Regions from separate parts of the Homo sapiens genome. Here region 2 is linked to region 1. Evidence: promoter capture Hi-C in human tissues and cell types (Jung and others, 2019). All regions are on one chromosome and are shown on one strand. Each heading gives the region's core, a stretch centred on a gene start or on the middle of the fragment in contact. The rest is flanking DNA. Distances are from core to core; before and after follow the strand shown.

The links. The method cuts DNA at HindIII sites, captures the fragments that hold promoters and counts their contacts. A contact is called where the count stands out against the background at its distance.
Region 2: a fragment that was not itself captured here is called in contact with the fragment with the promoter of SPATA31D1 in region 1 in 1 of the 25 tissues and cell types used here (dorsolateral prefrontal cortex).

The regions. Positions count from the first base shown.
Region 1 is chr9:81,984,960-81,991,191 of GRCh38, reverse strand. SPATA31D1 (SPATA31 subfamily D member 1) reads right to left here and starts at 2,420. Exons shown (of 4, transcript NM_001001670.3): 1 at 2,188-2,420; 2 at 1,369-1,414; 3 at 706-775; 4 at 1-419. The coding sequence starts at 2,373. All of the region lies in intron 1 of LOC105376107 (a long non-coding RNA gene), which reads right to left. The HindIII fragment of the contact is 9,723 bases long and covers 1-5,935 here.
Region 2 is chr9:80,699,262-80,705,493 of GRCh38, reverse strand. No RefSeq gene overlaps it. Among named protein-coding and RNA genes, the nearest start is that of LINC01507, 880 kb to the right of the region's middle. The HindIII fragment of the contact is 7,480 bases long and covers 1-6,232 here.

The DNA of each region.
Region 1 (6,232 bases), core at 1,171-3,670:
GGGGTGGGGAATGGTCTATGGGGAACTTGGAATCCAAGGGAGAAACAGGCTGTGGTGGCAGAGGGTCCCTCAGTGGTGAGGGTGAAAATAAGTCAGCTAAGGTGGTGATCAGGTCAGGTGAGAGAATTAAGGGGGGTGGTGGAGAGGCCTTAGGCCGAGGGGACAGTATTAGGTCTTCTGGAGGGGTTGCTGAGGGGGTGGAAGCCAGAGTGAACGATGACTCAGTCGCAGAAGCCGAAGAAGCCAAAGGGGACACAGAGGGAGCAGCATCTTTCAGGGACTCCCAAGACAGCAGTTGCTGGATATCAGCAGTTGCTCTCTTACACACCCGACAGACGGGGTCTGGGCATAACAGTCGACGAAAGTGGTTGGTATCATGATGCTGGCCCCGAGGACTGCAGGAAACAGGAGGTCCAAAGCTGCAGTCAGGACCAGAACAAGGAAAGGAGATTTGTTAGCCTGGCAGGGGTGGGTTCCCTAAAGCCTGCTGCCCATATCACATTGCCCCCAACCCAGGACCTCACCGTATATGAGGTCCTATGACCTCACTATAGCCTCTCCCCAACACATTCATTCACATACCCATTCCTATGGCTACCCACTCCCAAAACTACAGCAGGCTACAAGGAATCCCTGAAATGAATAGAACGTACTAAAGAAGAAGGAGTGGGGTGGGAACAGGACACAAAGGGAAAGATTAATCACCTTTTCAGAAGAGAAAGCAGCTTCCTTTCCTCTTCCTCTTCTCTCTGGAAACTTTTCCAGTCTGGGAAACCTGAATAGTATGTTATATGCAATGAAGATAGAGGCACACGGCTCATACAGAAGTCAATCTGTGGAAGACCCTTGGGATATTAAACTCTGAGAGCCCCAAGAATCAGTAGAAAAGGGAAAATAGTCATTGATAATATTCACAAGTTCACATGTGTATGTGGCATCATTAGTAAAGTCCTTTCACATACATTACCCCATGTGATGCTCAAAACCACCACGTGAAACACAGACATCAGTGGTTACCTCCAGGAGGAATCCGAGCATTGAGGAAGTCAAAGTACGTATGCAAAGTTGTGAGACAGAAGCTCTGACTCCAAGCCCACCAGCAGTCCCTCCTGGATATCTCAGTTGGCCACCAATTGGGCAACACCCATTGCTCAGGTCCATCACTTTGTCCTGCCCGTAAATGGGCAGAGCAGGGCCTCTGAGCAGTGTCTCAGGTCTGATTGCTTTCCCATGAGCCTGTCTTCTGAGGGCTCTGTTTTCTAAGACTGCATCTAGTAACTGACATTCTAAGAAATCATGGGACTGAGTCATCATGAAAGAGACAGAAAGGGTCACCCCTGAAGCTCAGATAGAGCAGGCTGACATTACCTTTGAATGTCCCACCTTTCCTTCTCCTCTTGGCTCTGCCCTGATGCTGAGAACAAAAGACAGATAATGACAGGCTGGGACTCACTTCTCTCACTCTCTATGAAGCTCATTCATTCATTCATTCATTCATTCATTCATTATACAAGAATATTACTCTTTAATTAATAGAAATATGTTCCTGTTATCAATTTTTAATGGTGATAAAATAGCTCCCATTTTTCCTTCTCTGAAAAATCCTCAAAGAAGATTTTGCTGTGAGAGCCACACTTGATGTACTCAGTTAGCAATTCTGAAGGAGGGCAAAGACTCAGAGGTCAACAGTCACATCTGTGCTCCCTCATGGGACAAGTGTCACGGAGACAGGCCTATAGCTCCAGCCTCTGCTCAGAGACTCTCAGCATTACTCCTCTGGTCAGCCCAACACGAAGGAAGACTTGGTCAAGTGACAGGTGACATGGGAATCTGACTCATGATCAAATTTCAGCAGAGACCGTTCTCCTTCAGAGAGCCCACAATCTCTAAATAATCCCACCTGGGACCACAGAATTACTGTGTTTGGGATTTTATCCTGGAACTCTCCACCACAGCCAGATAGGTAGCTTCACATGGAAAACTATGAGCTTCAGATGGAAACCTTAGTCCTCCTGAACCCCTATGTCTGCCCAACCTCTTCCATAGAAGAGTGAAGTTCTATCCTCTCTTCAGACTTCCCATCTAAAACATGTCTCTGTACCAACCAAACTTATTTAGAAATGTTGGAATAGGATTGGGAAACAACAACAGGGCATCTCTCTTGGGTGTTCACCCACAGTTCCTTACCTTTTGGATGTCATTATTTTTTTCGGTGGGTGACGAATACAGGGTCAATACCACGTAGAACAAGTACAGTATAAACAACCCCAACCCACTCAAGCAGATGAAGTTGGGGTCGATATCCAACCAATGTGAGTCAGGGCTCAGCCCTGTCTCAGTATAGCTGTTCAGAAAACAGAGGATATTCTCCATGGTCTGAATAGCTCAGCTGCCTGAAGCAACTGAGCACTGAGGGTGCCCAGGCTTAACTATAAGCACAGGCCTGCATCACAGAGCATGGAAGAGTCACAGAAGGTTTCTAAGGGTGCAGGGAGCAACAAGAGGAGGGTGTGTCCACAGCCCCAACCCCACCAGCCCAGCTGACTCTCCTGGGCCCTCTAGGTCCCTCTGCCCTACCTTGCCACTCCATTTCCCAACTCCATCCCTTTTCATGTCATATATTTATCTTAGTGGAATTTTTGGTTTGTTCCAACAGTAAACCAGGCATTACCCAAGTCCCGCTTTACTGTTTGGAGCTCTTAACTTGGACCCCACCAACCACACTGCCTTGAAAGCCTGAAATACTGCCTGGAATATTTGTTGTACCCAGGCATTGCCACTCTCAGGATCACATATGTCCTCAAATCCATCTTACCTACAGAACGTTTCTGCCTTACATAAATGCAGATATAAAACTTAAATTTCCTTTATACTTGCTTCGTTTTGTGAATGTTGAACATTACATTTTTTGTTTTGAAGTCAGTTTTTACTATTTCCAATCAGAGTGACTGTCTCAAATGATTAAAACTAATGTTATCAAGGAAAAGAAGCTCACTGCCCAATTTGGGTTTTTGAGAAAAGAAGGTTTTTATTGTAAATTAACGAACAATAAGACAGGAGTCCAGATCAAACCTGTCCCCTGTGCTGGCTTTCATGGGGTCATTTTATTAGAAAAAGTTTAGGGAGTGGCCTCTGGAATTAATAGTTGATTGGTGGAAGGAAAGCGGAGGTCTGTAAGTCCTCCGCATGCACAGTTCTGTTTAACGCTGCCTCATGTATTCCATGTGCACATTTGTGGGGAGTTGGTTGAAACGTGGCAGAAATTTGGGCTGTGACGCCAGCCAGCTTGTTCTGTGCCAACTCCAGTTGGCCTTAATAGTTTTAATTCATTTTAGCCAGTTTTTTAATCTCAGAAGCAGGGAGAGTTTTGGCATTTTAGTAAGTTATTGTTGTTGTTGTTTTTTAATCGCCTATCCTGTAAACTGATTATTTCATTAGTCACTGTTTTCTTCAACTCTCTGGGGCATGGTTTCACTAATAATGCATTATTTAACATCTATAAAACAAAAATAAGTGTACAATAAATATATATAATTAAAACTTCAAGGGATCTTGGGGGTTAATTTATAGAACTTACTTTTCTGAAGTTAGTGAGGTTTAAACTGTTCAAGCACTTTTGGAACATACTCTCTACACAAACACACATACACATCGACCTAAAAGGAAGAAGTTGAGGCAAATTATTATAAACACACAGTTCATTTGGGTCAAGCTTGAGGATTGCGACCTGGGAACACAGATGCAAGTCCCCCTGAATATACACTCCAATTAGCAGCAGTTATGAGTGGGTTTTCAAAGTCAAAAAAAGAGGTCAAGGAGTGGGCTGATACAAAGTTGTAATCAGGAATTCTCATTGGTTTACAGAAGCGACATTGATTAGTGATTGGCTATACATTGTTAAGCTATATGGGGTGGGTTATCCTGTCAGGTGTGGCATTATTGGGTTACTATATAGCTCCATGTGGCAATAGCAAGCAGTTTCAAGAGATGAATACATAGCTCAAGGAGGAAATAGGGCTGTGATTTCTGTCTCATTTTAATGTCTCTCTAGGCCTGATAACTTAAGAGGACTCACATGCCTCAGATAAAAGTTCTTTTCTTTACAAACACACCCACACACCCATCCTGTGACAAATCTATCAGTATTTTCAAATCCAGAATCAATTAGTTCCTCCTTTTATTTCAATCTTATTTGTCATTATGACCCCACATTTCTAACTCTCCCTCAAATACAGACAGTCCCAGCCCTCCACATCAATTTGGTAACAAGTATGCAACTCCCTTAAAGCAGGGATAGGTTACAGTGCGCTAAGCTATTATGACCTAAAAGACCAAAATAGATGCCCCTTTATCAACTAAGACAGGCCCTAAGGGTAAGGAAACAAAGTTACCTATGGGTCAAGGGTTCAGGGCCTGGATGGCATGGCAAATTTCTAACTTTCTATAAATAGACTGCCTCTAACCAAACGAGCTATCAGCTCTGATCGGACAGAGGACCGGCCTTACAAACATTCTTTTCTGATAAGCTACTAATATTACAGATTGCCAGTATCTGCCAGCATATAGAGGCTGCATACAAACCACCTTTGTGTCCCATAGTTTACCTTATGATGTAAAGGACCAAATTCTACCTCATTTTAGTGCTAAAACCCCATTCCAAAGTGAACATGGGATGTATGATACATATATTTACTCATTGTGGTGTGCTCAGCTCCCACAGAAGTATGTATAGCTTCTCCCCAAAACTTGTTGAGTATGTATGAATATGAATGTAAAACACAACCTGTCCTTCCCCTATTCCAACAGAGAGCACCTTCATTCCACACTGGATGCTGTCCCTTCCTGGTTTGCAAACTGATAAGAGCAATGAGGCTCTCCTTTCTACTATTAAGTCATCCTGCTGGTATTGTGGATGATACTACTGATCCCATCAGTGTTTGGTAGCAGAGTGAGACTTAGGTGTGTCAAAGCCTTAGAGCAGAATGTAGTCTTAAGCAACCTCACCTGACTACACTGTGGGTCATGTAAATGTGATCTTTTCCCGAGTGCCTTGGCATCCAAAAAAACTTGAGAACATCTGCTCTATATTCTACATAATCACTTCTGCAAATGTCCAAATACCAACTGCCTGTCACACTTTATTCGGGTGACTCTTGTCAGTTTAAATAATTCCAATATCCCCCACCCCTAACCCACCTTCCTACACATTCTTTTCTAAACTCTTTATCATGACAGCTGTCCTCTAAACTGTCTTTTAATTTCTTATGTCTTTCTTAAACTATTGTTAAAGCAAAGTAAGTATGGCTTGAGAAGGACTCCATACTTCTATATTTGAGTCCTTGGGGATGAACTGTAACCTAGCTTAATAGTCAGACAAATTGAAAACCTAACTCAATAGTATGCACCTGTAACAACAGCTGAGTGTTGGCCAATCCCAGCGGCCATAATTCAACCACTCACAGACTGCTGAATGTTCAAACTGTGTTCAAATAAGGCAAACGCCAAGCTGTAACCAATCTCACTCTTTCTGTACCTCACTTCCAATTCCTATACATCACTTTACCTTTTTTGTCTATAAATTTGTTCTAACCACGAGGCATCCGTGGAGTCTCTGTGAATCTGCTCTGATTCTGGGGTCTGCCCAATTCACAAGTCATTCATTGCTCAAACTCCTTTAAATTTAATTTGTCTGAAGTTTCTTTTAACACTATAAAGCTCTTTATTTGACACCCATTGGCCACCACTGTTTGTTGATCTCTTTTGAAGGGCTAAGACAGCCTCCAAGCCAGGCCAGGTCTCTTTTCAATTATGCAGGAGCAGGTAACCTGCCTTGAGGATAAAATCTGCCAAGAGATGCCCCTTCCTCTTCTCTTTAATATGCAGTCTCGGCCGAGTTTTCATCTAATAAATACTTACTGCTGGAAACTAGGAGACACAAGCATCTGTAAGCCACGGGCTCTGCCATTTACCTCCTGGTGCAGTTGGAGCGATTAATTCTACACAGCTCAAGAGGTATACAAATGCAGAGGAGAGGTTCCCCCGCCTCCAGCATTTACAATCGCCAAGTGATCTCTGGAACAGAGATACTGTGAGTCATAACTCCTCAGACACATCATGCTCTTTAGCAAAAAATCCCTGCATGTGCACTCTCTCCAATTTTCTAATATGGATTAATGATTCTTTGAGGAGATGGTCAAAGAACAGCTTCTCTCTTTTAAACTGTCATTCATTG
Region 2 (6,232 bases), core at 1,616-4,115, 1.3 Mb after region 1:
ATTTTCAAAAATGCAGGAATCATTATCTATTTTATTGACCAATTTTACCATTTAAAGTTTTAAAAAATATATTATAAAACATATATAGGCAAAGGCCAAAGGCAAATTGTAAAATGAAAAATAATATTGTTTTTTACATTACAGAAAATAGCTAATATCCTTTATTAGTCAGTAATCACATATAGTTAATAAGACCAATAACCCATATAAAAATGGGGAAATAATATGAACAGCCAATTTATTTAAAAATAAAAATGAAATGCAGATAGCTTTAGGCATATTACAAGATACTCTGTGACTCATATTAAAATTGCAAATTAAAACTATAAAATTCCCAATTTTACCCATCAATCCGGCAAAAATCAAAAAGATTGATTTATCATTGTCAGGGAACAGACACTATACATTGCAGCATCTAAGTGTAAGATGGAAAACAAATGGAATATCCATTAATAGGAAACTCTGTTAAATAAGTTATGGTACATTATTATAATGGAATAGCGAATCAAAAGAATGAGCTGAATTTTATATACTGCATTTAAATGTGAAAAAATTACAATAATAATTTGAAGAGGAAGTAATATTTGCAAAGAGTAATACTGTGAAGTAAGCTATGAAAAGGGCTATTCAAGACAGTATATTTTATGTAATAGTCTCTTTGTTAATAAATCAAATAAAAATATTCATACACACACGCACAAACACACAAATAGGTATGTAGACAAATATTTGTGTAAAATATGTAGGAACATATATAAATGCTAACGTGTGCTTCTAAAATGGGGATTTGGAGTCTATGGCAGAATAGGAGACCTTCTGAATTTTATAACATCTTCTTTTATATCCTATTTATGTTTTCCTCTTCAAAAATTTTAAAGAAATATTTATAATTATAACACAGCTGGAAACTATTAAAACATTTTAAGCAGGGGAGTTTCAAAAATATAAATAATGCAATATTAACTATAAACAACAACCTTTGGAATATTTAAAAACATACTTGAACTAAATTTTAGAAAATAATATATAATAAGACAGAGTGATTTCATGAGGTGGTTGAAGAATACTGAGGTAGACCTTTAAGAAGGAGGATGTGGTTTGTTTAATTCTACATTGGGTAAAATATTAAGATAAGCATGTTTGCTAGAAGTTTTTGAAATTAAATAGAATGTATCTCCTCTAAACCAGACATGAAAAAAATAAAAAAAATTAAAATGTTAATCAAGAAAGATAAAATGAATCACAATAGCAGTAAATAAAAGTCAGAATACATAATGATAGAAATACATCAGTGACTACAATAAATGTAAATGCAGTAACTTTTAAAGTCAGAGCTACACATCCCCTATCTCTTTCTCTGTTAAGAAAAAAAATCAAAGGCAGTTGTGTTGCTTTTGCTATTAGAAACAATGTGGTTTTGCAGATTGTGACTTATATTTGGTGAAATTCTTGGTTTGCATATGTTTTCCTAGATATGTGTGTTCTGCTGTTTCAGTCTGTTTTGGCCTCGGCAGAAACTTAAAATGTGTGTCCAAATGTCATGTTGTAGGTCACAACAACGTTTCAGAGTCTCTGCTCTCCTCTGAATGCCTGTCTTTGCCATCTATCTGTGTAGAGCCCTCCCACTACTCTGGCTGTGGCTTTGGCTTTGACTAGGTGATTTTCTTTGACCAATGGAATGTTAACAAACATGGCCAAGGGGAGGCTTGGAAAGTGTGTACATACGGGATTTACCTGCTTCTGCACTTTGCCCATATAAAATAAGAGCACGGCTGCTTGAGGAGGAAAGACAGGAACAGAGCCAAGTCACAGCAGTCATTCTATGCAAGGCCATCCCAGATTAGCCAAAAGCCAGCCGTCCCCTATAACATGGGAACAATTCCCACAAAGTTGGATATGAAAAATTGTCCTATTAACCCACAGATTTGCTTATTGTTTTAAGTCATTGAGTTTTGACATGATTGGTTAGAAAACATTATGGTGCTAAAAGATGAGATTCATGGAGTTGGCTTTCTCAGTTAGTGTAGAAAAGTGCAGTGGTGAAATGCCTGTGTTAATATGTTAAGAGACCTCATACATCAATATAAACCAATGAACTCAGGGAAGTGAAACACAATTCTCTCACTCACAGTCACTGAAGGGCTGTTTTACAATTTTCTTCACCAAATAATCAAAATATATTTGACTTTTAACAAGTATCAAAGGTCTAATAACCCCTGCTTTTCCATACTTCTATTAGCATCAATTTGTGCTCCTTCAAGTCTTTCTGTTCACCTGCTATGTAATTCTTCTCATTTGCCAGTCTTATCCTGCTGTCTGACAGTTGCCTTCTCTTTTCTGGCTCTCTTGCCTCTGTTTAACCTGCCAACACCTTTTGTTTTCCCTTCCATGCTTCAGGAAAAGGAAGATAACTTGGCATACCTGCCAGAGACTTATGACAGTAATATATGAGCAGGGTGCTTCACTGATGTTGTAGGATAAAACAGTACCCTCAAGAAGACAAACCCTCTGTCATTTGGTTTCCAGGGATACAAACATATCTAAAAATGCGGAGCTAAATACATTTTAAAATAAGAAATTCTTTTAATAATTGAAGTATAGAAAAAGATACAGAGGGAAAAACAAGGCTTTGGAGTCAGACACTGCTGAAAGTGAATTCTGACAACCGTTTACCCCAGGCAAGTTACTTAACTGCTTGAGTATCCCTTTTATCTTCTGAAAGATGTGAGGATTATATGAGACAGAATAGCTAAACTCCCGGCACAACCAGCATGTTTCTTCTCCTGTCTCTCTGGCTTCACCAACAACTAAGGCTTTTTTTATTTTTAACATTATTCCTAAATATCCCCCAAATCCTTCAGCAAGTCTGCTCTGTCTCAGCCTCTTCAACCTGGTATTCATTCTGAGCCAGATCTCTTTAAGAGCAAAAGCCCTGTGGTTACTTGAACTTAACTGCCTAATAGGACAAAAGAAAGAGAAAGTTATAATGTTACTATAAATTCTACTTGGATACATTTTCAAATTGGAATATTTTATCCTTCTCACATGAAAATAATACTTTCACTAATCATTAACAAAACAGTGTTAAATTCCACAACTTGCAGAAGAAATCTGGATGACTACTTACTAGAGTAACTATGAAAACACTACTAGACACAATTATGTGCCCTAATAGGGCTATAACTAATCAATTGGATTGATAAGCTTATGGAAGATGACAATGGTCATATCCTGCAGGAACATCTCATGCGATGAGTATGTGACAAAGTAAAAATTTCTTACCTTGGTTGACTGATACTAATTTTTCTAACTGCTTATTTTACTAGATTACCATCTATTTAAACATCATCTTAATTTAAGGTCTCAATATGTGCCACAAACTGCTTCATAGACGTTGATATGTAAATGTTAAAGTGTGCAATTCTTTTTGATCAATAAGGCAGCTTTCTTGTTCTTACAATATTCCATAATAGGACAATGGCAAAGAGGAACACAATTATATCAAATGAAGCACTAGTACTTATGTCACAGCCAAAAGATAAAAACAGAAGCTACTATTTATCTAATGTTTTAGGTATGCTAAGCACTCTGCGCACATTAGTTTTTACGAAAACCCTTCAAGGTAAATATCTTTAGCCCATCTTACAGGGTGAAGGTACCAATAATTTGAGAATAAGTAAGTTTCCCAAGTTAAAAATAGAATGGCCATTTTTGTATACATTTGGCCGCAACATTATTAAACCAACAACAAAGTAACCATAACAATCACCCAGCCCCACTTTTGCTGCATCCATCTGAAAATAATGTTCCCACAAATGTCTCTTCCCTCCATGCTATAATCCTTTTATATCCTAGCCAATCTTAGATGTTGTCAATTTCTCCTTACATTTCGTCCTCTCAGAATTCACCTGCCACCTTACCTTACTCATTTGCTATTTTTGTTATTCAGGCAAACTGTTTATGCTGTTCTTAAAGGGTTCTAGGGAAGGGCATTTTCATGTCAATGTCCAGGTGGAGGTTGAATTTTAAAGTAAAGATGAGGAGAAGATGAAGAATGGGATTCTTTTCAACTTTTTGAAGACATAAAACAAATAAGAAGATACTGGATTAAGAATCAAATATCAGAATATATTTAATGAATTGGAGCTTGGGTTGCTATCAAGAAGCATGTAAGTGCAACATCATGCTTTGTTAGTCATTTTGTCCTTGGACAAAATAGATAGGAAAAATTCTTACAGTATGATGTAACAAATTAATGAATCATTTTTAAGTATATTTTTGGCACATTGATGTTATTAAAAAGTGAAGAAACATTTACTTCAGCCATTCTTGTATGAAATATGAGAAAAAAAAAGGTAGGAACTCAGACTTGCTTTTTATGGAATTAATCTTAAATTCCTCAGAGTTTTGGTTCCAGATTTTTACATCTACAGGGAACAAAGGAAGAATAACATAAGAAATGTTAATTTCATTTGTTGCATGTTACTTTTTTTTTCTTGGATGCTTTGTAAAACTTACACAAGGCACCATGAGTTTTCAGGAATTCTATCATGCTGTTGACATCTTGCTCTTATCTAATAGTAATGATCCAAGTTGGAAGCTGCCATCAGAGCATAATTCCTGCTTAATGATGATAAAGTAGGTATTGGTGAGATAATACAATATCTATGTATACCTGAAGCAGAAGACTTTAACTTGTTAGAATCGTCTTATCTAATGAAATCTGGAAACAAACTATTCTGATAAGGAAACATAGTTTTTATTTTATATCACTCCTCTATTGGATTTTCCTATCATTTTCTTCCCAAACATGGCCTGAATCTCAATTCTATTTCTCTGGAGGATTGAACTGATTATGTTATAGCATTTTGCTTGATATTACACTTTTGTTTTTCTTTCCCTTCAGCATCCCATTTTCTCATATTCCCACCAATTTTTCCAGGGAACACTTCCTGATAAATCACTTTTGTACGAAACCTCATCCCAGGATTTGCTTCTGGGGAACCCAAGCTGAGATAAGCATACATTAAAAATGTGAACACTTGTAATCATCAGGATAATCTACTTAGACTTTATTGAGTATTTTTTTTTTGCACTCTCAAGGCACATTTTGACATGGTTTGTATTCCCTATACTAAAATTTTCCTGGAGTTGATATTTGGATATTTTTCATTCACTTGTTTCAAGTTTAGGTAACACATAGAATCAAATATTTAAAATTGCATATGATTTGTGCCCTGAAGAACTTTCCAGATTATTGAAACTAGTTCTAGTCTTTCAGAGATGCTTCAAGAGAAGCTAAACAATTTAGCCATAATTGTAGAACTTAATAGCGGTAAAAGCCAGAATTAGAAGCTTTTTCTCTTTTTTCTAGCCAGTACCCAGTGGTGTCTTCCTGTTATAAAATGAACACATTTTTTCCCCTTTATCTGCCTTTGGTGGAGATACAGAACAGCTGGTCACCATCCTTCCTATTTGGTTAAAGAGTGCAGGAATGGATTATTATGGAAATCACTTCCTTCCCTCCAGTCTAGTAGGTGCTGACTCCACTTAAAGGAAAGAGCAATAGAGGGGAAACTTTGAATGCTGCTGGCCTGCTTCCATATAGTCTGTGGATAATGGAGCTCTTTGATGTCTGGTACATTCATAACCACTGAACTCAGCTTTCCAGTCAACAGAAGAGCTATTTTACACTACTTTTGATGTGATGAAATAACTTAACTAGACATGGTTAATCACATAGCTGGTGATTATGCCATGCAAGGAAAAGCCACTAAAGTAAGCTGACTGCCTCTATGCAGAACAAAGGAAAACTCCCTAGCAGGCATACACATAGCTGACTCAAGTGCTCTGGCATGACTCGGTTTTTTACCGTCCAGATTCACTCTTACTATTTTAACAACATGAAACATAATCATCACTGTGTCCATGACAACTCTGCATACCTGCCTGACTTGCCTATTGCTTATCCTGTGTGGCAGTCATTAGTTTCCTTCACTCTGTTCCAGAGATATCTGACTTTGATCACACTACCAGGCTGAAAACCAACCATATCTGGAACTAAAGCAGAGAAAGCTCTTTTGTAAAAGTGTAATCCCACTTAGGTCATCTGTTTATTACTTTGTCCAAAAGATCTAGATTTTCAGATGATTTGACTGGTATTACGAACGCAAATCCTATAATAAATGAGTGTCCCTATAGTTCAACAGCATCAAGGGAAAATATGATCTGG